Linked DNA regions of Homo sapiens: region 2 is linked to region 1. The links are contacts of gene promoters, found by promoter capture Hi-C in blood cells and fetal thymus (Javierre and others, 2016). All regions are on one chromosome and are shown on one strand. Each heading gives the region's core, a stretch centred on a gene start or on the middle of the fragment in contact. The rest is flanking DNA. Distances are from core to core; before and after follow the strand shown.

Evidence for each region. Contacts are between HindIII fragments. The CHiCAGO score rates a contact against its expected background, and 5 or more counts as called.
Region 2: a fragment that was not itself captured here is called in contact with the fragment with the promoter of H4C6 in region 1 in 1 of 17 cell types (monocytes); the score reaches 5.0 in monocytes.

What each region holds. Positions count from the first base shown.
Region 1 is chr6:26,239,013-26,242,112 of GRCh38, reverse strand. H4C6 (H4 clustered histone 6) reads right to left here and starts at 1,720. Exons shown (of 1, transcript NM_003540.4): 1 at 1,320-1,720. The coding sequence starts at 1,687. The coding sequence ends at 1,376. RefSeq lists enhancers at 1,484-1,533, 1,994-2,093. The HindIII fragment of the contact is 5,393 bases long and covers 1-3,100 here.
Region 2 is chr6:26,502,078-26,505,523 of GRCh38, reverse strand. It overlaps BTN1A1 (butyrophilin subfamily 1 member A1), which reads right to left. Exons shown (of 8, transcript NM_001732.3): 4 at 318-599. The region is part of intron 1 of LOC107986583 (a long non-coding RNA gene); the gene reads left to right. Among named protein-coding and RNA genes, the nearest start is that of BTN1A1, 3.5 kb to the right of the region's middle. The HindIII fragment of the contact is 357 bases long and covers 1,351-1,707 here.

The DNA of each region.
Region 1 (3,100 bases), core at 471-2,970:
TTTTTTCTTTTTGAGACGGAGCCTTGTTCTGTGCCCCAGGCCTGGAGTGCAGTGGCGCGACCTCGGCTCACTGCAACCTCAGTCTCCCGGGTTCAAGTGATTCTCCTGCCTCAGCCTCCCGAGTAGCTGGGACTACAGGCGCGTGTCACCACGTCTACGTCTAATTTTTGTATTTTTAGTAGAGACGAGGTTTTGCAGTGCTAGCCAGGCTGGTCTCGAACTCGTTGAGCTCAAGTGATCCACCCACCTCGGCCTCCCAAGCTGCTGGAATTACAGATGGGATTGCAGACATGAGCCACCGAGCCCGGCCAAACTTTACTTTTTTTTTTTTTTTTTTGAGGCATGGTCTCTGTCGCCCAGGCAGGAGTGGAGTGGCACCATCTCAGCTCACTGAAATCTCCGCCTCCCGTGCTCAAGCGATTCTCCTGCCTCAGCCCTTGCAGATTAGCTGCGACAGCAGGCGTCCGCCACAACGCCGGGCTAACTTTCCTATTTAACTTTTTTAGTTGAGACGGAGTTTCACCATTTTGGTTGCCCAGGCTAGTCTCGAACTCCTGAGCTCTAGTAATCCGCCCGCCGTGGTCTCCCAAGGTGCTGTGATTCAGGCCTGAGGCACCGCGCCCGGACACAAGTAGTGGATTAAGTTTACCAGTAATTGATCTGTCCACAGCCGCCCTAAGATTACTCACGTTCTATGCCTAATAAATAACACTAAGGCCGGGCACGGTGGCTCACGCCTGCAATCCCTGCACTTTGGGAGGCCAAGAAGGGCGGATCACCTGAGGTCGGGAGTTCGAGACCAGCCAGACCAACACAGAAAAGCCCCTTCTGTACTAAAAATAAAAAATTAGCCAAGCGTGGTGGCGCATGCCTGTAACCCCAGTTACTCGGGAGGTTGAGTCAGGAGAACCGCTTAAACCCGGGAGGGGGTGGTTGCGGTGAGCCGAGATTGCGTCATTGCACTACAGCCTGGACAAGAGCAACTCCATCTCAAAAACTAAACATGTAATGCTAGTGTAGTTAAGTCCCAGCCACCTAACATAGGAGTAAATTTCAGAAACGTGGGAATAAAACACATCACATACGTCATAAAAGGCTGCTGGTATTCCCAAACCATTTCCACCATCTTTTCCTGTGAATGTTTGCGATCGAAATACCTGAACAAGTTTCTAATGTTTCGCCTTCCCTTTCTCCTTAGCACATCCGCCATCTTAGGAAGATCGCTAAAAACGGCTCGGTTTAACTCAGTTAGAATCCCAAATTTACAAAACGAAACCCAAGTCGTCATCAGTTACAGCCCTTCGTGTGACGAAGGAGGTGGCCCTGAAAAGGGCCTTTTATGGGTGAGCTGTTAAATAAAAAGCCGGGGTGAGGCTCAGCCACCAAAGCCGTACAGAGTGCGTCCCTGGCGCTTGAGCGCGTAGACAACATCCATTGCAGTGACTGTCTTACGCTTGGCGTGCTCCGTGTAGGTTACGGCGTCCCGTATCACATTCTCCAGGAACACCTTAAGAACACCGCGGGTCTCCTCATAAATGAGGCCCGAAATGCGTTTCACGCCGCCGCGTCGGGCCAAGCGACGGATGGCGGGCTTCGTGATGCCCTGTATGTTGTCACGCAGCACTTTGCGATGGCGCTTGGCGCCTCCCTTTCCTAAACCTTTACCACCTTTGCCTCTACCAGACATGATCGAAGACAAACAACAACTCTTAACTTTTGCAACTTTGCTACACACTGAAGCCCCTTATATATCAATTATGCGGACCTTTTTGGAGACTGAATTGGAGGGGCGGGAACGAAACCTCTGTCTCCGCCTTTTCCGTAACTTACTGGGCGTCCCCTACACTATTGCCTTGGGAAGGAAAGGGGGCGGTGAGGGTAGGGGAAATGCAAGTTGATTTGACTCCTTCCTGTTTCCTTGTTTGGGTCTTGAGTGTAGGTTTCTGTGTCTTCTAGTCCAGTGCCTGTGGGCTCTCGAACTGATAATGTCTGTCTCCTAAAATCCTTATTATTTGCAAAAAGGAGGCAGTAACGCTACACTTGTCTACCGAATGGATAGACAAGAGAATAAAATTATTATTTCTTTTGAAACAGTTTTGCTCTGCCCCAGACTGGAGTGCAGTGGCGTGATCTCGGCTCACTGCAACCTCCGCCTCTCGGGTTCGAGCGATTCTTCTGCCTCAGCCCCTGCAGTAGCTGCAACTACAGGCGCGCGTCACCACGCCCGGCTAATTTTTGTATTTTTAGTAGAGATGGGGTTTCGCCATGTTGACTAGGCTGGTCTCGAACTCCTGACCTCAGGTGATCCACCCGCCTCGGCCTCCCAAAGTTCTGGGATTACAGGCGCCTAGCTTTAATTTTTAAATGTGAAGATTCTTTGAAAATGTATTTTTACTAATTTTTTTTTTTTGATACGGGGTCTCACTCTGTTGCCCAGGCTGGAGTGCAGTGGCGCTATCTCGGCTCACTGCAACCTCCGCCTTCTGGGTTCAAGCGATTCTCATGCCTCAGCCTCACGAGTAGCTGTGATTTCAGGCACGCGTCGCCACACCTGGGTAATTTTTGTATTTTCTTAGTAAAGACGGGGTTTCGCCATGTTGGCCAGGGTGGTCTCGAACTCCTGACTTCAGGTGATCCACCCACCTTGGCCTCACAAAGTGCTGGGATTACTGGCGTGAGCCACCACGCCCGGCCATTTTTATTAATTCTTAAAATGTAGCAATACTTCTTAAATTTGGCCAATCATGAGACTTAGCGTTTGGCAGAGACATATACATTCACATCGTTTTTGGCATTCCTAATAAAGAAAGACCTCTAGTAAGGGAAACCAATATTAATTGAAGTTTCATTCTTAGTTTTTCAATGTATAATGCAATATCTGAGGTGTAAAGATAAGGAATCCCAGGCTTGAAGACATTATCCTCTAATAAATGGCATTGTATTGTTGGCTCGATTCTGGAGTCTCACTACCTTGCTACCTACCACTGCTTTCATGCCACTAAAGCATACATGGTAAATCATGGTGAATAAAGGTTTGTAAATTAACAAAAATAATACTAATAAATTCTGTGAAATACTGTCCTAATAAAAGATTCCGGAA
Region 2 (3,446 bases), core at 280-2,779, 260 kb before region 1:
GAACCTGGGAAGCGGAGCTTGCAGTGAGCTGAGATCATTCTGCTGCTGCACTCCAGTCTAGGCAACAGAGTGAGACACTGTCTCAAAAAATAAATAGATAAATAATCTGAAATTTATTTGAGATCAAGGTAGGTTTATGTCTTCAGTATCTTAACTCTTCTAATAAAGTTGGTGGGGTTCCCTTAAGTCACTGGAAAAGAGCTTAGGTGGGGAAAGTAGACAACTCTGCCATGAGGTCACATCTGGGCAGGTGTCCCAGGTGGTGTGGCTCTGAAGCTGTGTCAACATAGGAATCCAGCAGCATTGGTTCCACTAACCTGGTATGGATATTTCTACTTTCTTCTCCTGGCCAAGAAGGAGATTCTGGATGTAGCAGGACACATTTTTCGCAGAAGTGTCTCTGATGATCACTGAAGCAGCCACAGTGAACAAACCTTCTTCATCAGGATTCCTGGACTCTGATGTAGATGGAAACTTCTCTCCCTTGGAAGTTCTCCACTGCACCTGGGGCTCTGGGTACCATCCCACTGAGGTGCACTCCAGACAGATTTCTCCATTCTCTTGAACTTGCATACTGATGTGAGGGTCAGAGCCCAGAGCTATGGAGAGAGAATCTGGACTTAATGTTTTAGCGGACCCCTTTTGGGAGCCTTATAACCAGAGAGCTACATAGTTTGAGAAAGAGAGAGACAGAAAGGCACAAGTGGACTAGTAGGGGGAAGAACTCATCTCCATATTTCAATATACAAGGAAACTGAGGGCCAGGCACAGTGGTTTATGTCTGTAATGTCAGCACTTTGGGAGGCTGAGGCAGGATTACTTGAGTCCAGGAGATCAAGACCAGCCTGGGCAACACAATGAGACCCCATCTCTTTGGGCATGGTGGTTCTTGCCTGTATTCCTAGCTACTTGGGAGGCTGAGGTTGGAGGATTGCTTGAGTTCAGGAGTTCAAGGCTGCAGTGAGCTGTGATGGCACCACTGCACTCCAGCCTGGGTGACAGAGTGAAATGCTGTTTCTAAAAAAGTTTTTTTTTTTTTTTAAAGGAAATTGAAGTACCAATAAAAGGAATTTCATATACCTTATCAGAGAAGGATGCCTTGTTGGGATCAAGCCTTTGAAATGTTTGCAGCAGTTTGGTGGGCAGACTTGGGGGTGCTTGTCCAGCCAGCAGGAACACTAAGACCAATAACTCAGAGGTGGGTTAGTGGTCTAGGCTGAGAGCATTATGAGAAGACTTTGGTGGGGAGGAGGAGAAATAGGACTGGGTATTTAAGGATGAACAGAGGAATATCCTTGAGGAGAGGATTGGCGATTCTTTGGCTTGAGATTATAGTTGACAATTTAAGCTTTCTTTATCTATGATGTTGATTCAGAAATTTTCTTAAATGGTCTCAACTTCATATTCCCTCACATAATTGTGGCCTGTTATATATAAACATAAAGCTGCTTTTCTTGTGTGTTTAGCCTATTTTTTTCTGTAATTCCACATGGTACAGAAAAACACTGAGCTGCATAAAAGAGCTCTTAAACACATTTCCACAACCACTGGTTAAAATCCACATTCCAAGAATGTGTGTATATACAAGAATATATATTCTTTTCATGGAAGGAGCTGCCACTTTCAGCAGATTCTCAAGGGTGTCTGCCACTCATAAAAGGTAACACATTTTATGCCATCAAATTTCTATGTTTTTATAATCAAGCTTTAAGATACTTCTTCCCTAAAAACAAAATGTCAAAATTTGAATTATACATGATGCTGCAACTGGGGGACCCTGTTGTGAAGCAGGGACCCACATTTCACCCAAGTATTTTTCAAACTTTATATTTACTTGAATATATATCTATGTATATATATATATAATATATGCATATAGATTTAGATAATATATACATATATGATATATATGTGAAAGGCAATATGTTTGTATATTATATGTTTTAGATCAGTTTAAGGCACAGTATAGTATCTAATAAGTCTATAATGTTTTTAGAATTGGCGAGGTCATTTCTCATATATTGTCTAATTTTATTTTATTCTTTTTTTTTTTGTTAGAGACGAGTCTCACTCTGTTGCCCAGGCTGGAGTGCAGTAGTGCAGTCTCAGCTCACTGCAACCTCTGCCTCCCAGGTTCAAGCGATTTTCCTTGAGTAGCTGGGATTACAGGTATGACCCAGCTAATTTCTTTTTGTATTTTTAGTAGAGATGGGGTTTTGCCATGTTGGCCAGGCTGGTCTTGAATATCCTGATCAAAAGTGAGTCACCCGCCTTGGCCTCCCAAAATGCTGGGATTACAGGCGTGAGACACCACATCCCACTTTTTTTTTTTCTTTTTTTGACAGCACACTCTATTGTCCAGGCTGGAGTGCAGTGGCAACCATCAGCTTACTGTAACCTTGAATTTCTTGGCTCAAGAGATCCTCCTGCCTCTGCTTCCCAAAGCGCTGAGATTATAGGAGTTGGCCACTGGTCCCAGACTATTTTATTCTTGAAAAATAATCTTAGATAAAAACATCCTCAGTTTTACAGTAAAAATCAGAAAGAGATTTGCTTGATGTCATTCACTAGGAATTGAGAAAGTCAGACCTCAATGCGTACTTTCCTCCTCAAAGCTTATTATTTTCTTTATTGTTTCCCTTTGAATTCTGGCTTGAAGCAAAAAAGGGAACAAGAACAGAATCTTTTCTATATGAATCAGGAATGTGACAAACCGCCATGCTCTCTAATCTTAGGATGTCAGTCTTTAGAAACTAATCCATAAGCCAGCCTTAAAGTGTGTGGTATGCTCACCACAGCCATAAGATGTGTAATGGTGAGAAATACAATTTAAATGTACAATTCAGGGACTCGATGAAGTAAATTATGGTGTACTTGTATAAAAGAATGTTATATAACTCTTATATGTATTTAATTATTTCATGAAGAAATGCTTACCCTATTATTGAAAAAGGGCTGGAGATAATTGAAATAAAGTTCTACAATAAAGACATTGCACTGTTCTCTCCATGTTCAACTCAAAACCCTTTCTCACTGATTTCCTACTGTAGGACCTTCAGTACCTTCTAGCTGTGGAGTCCTAATCAGGGGAAAACAAAGAGATAAGGCAGATAAGCTGCAAGTCTGCCTTTCTTCATGGTCCAGTACACAGCCCTCCTGTGCAAATAACTCACAGTCATCCTTCCTGTGTCCAACTATCACCAAACACCTGCAAGTTAGCTCACTGCAACCTTTGCCTTATAGATACTGCACAAAGCCATCTTCAACAGACAGCATAAAAACTATTCTATAAATTATCCAGCAAGCCTTTGTTTCCTGGCAGTCAGCTTCTCTTTTGCTGATCCTGCCTTTTGCCTCCTCGAAAAGTATTTTCATACTTTTAAAAGTAAATCTGCCTTTCTTTACAACTGTCTTGGTAAATTCTTTTACCCCCCCTCGCCTCCCGC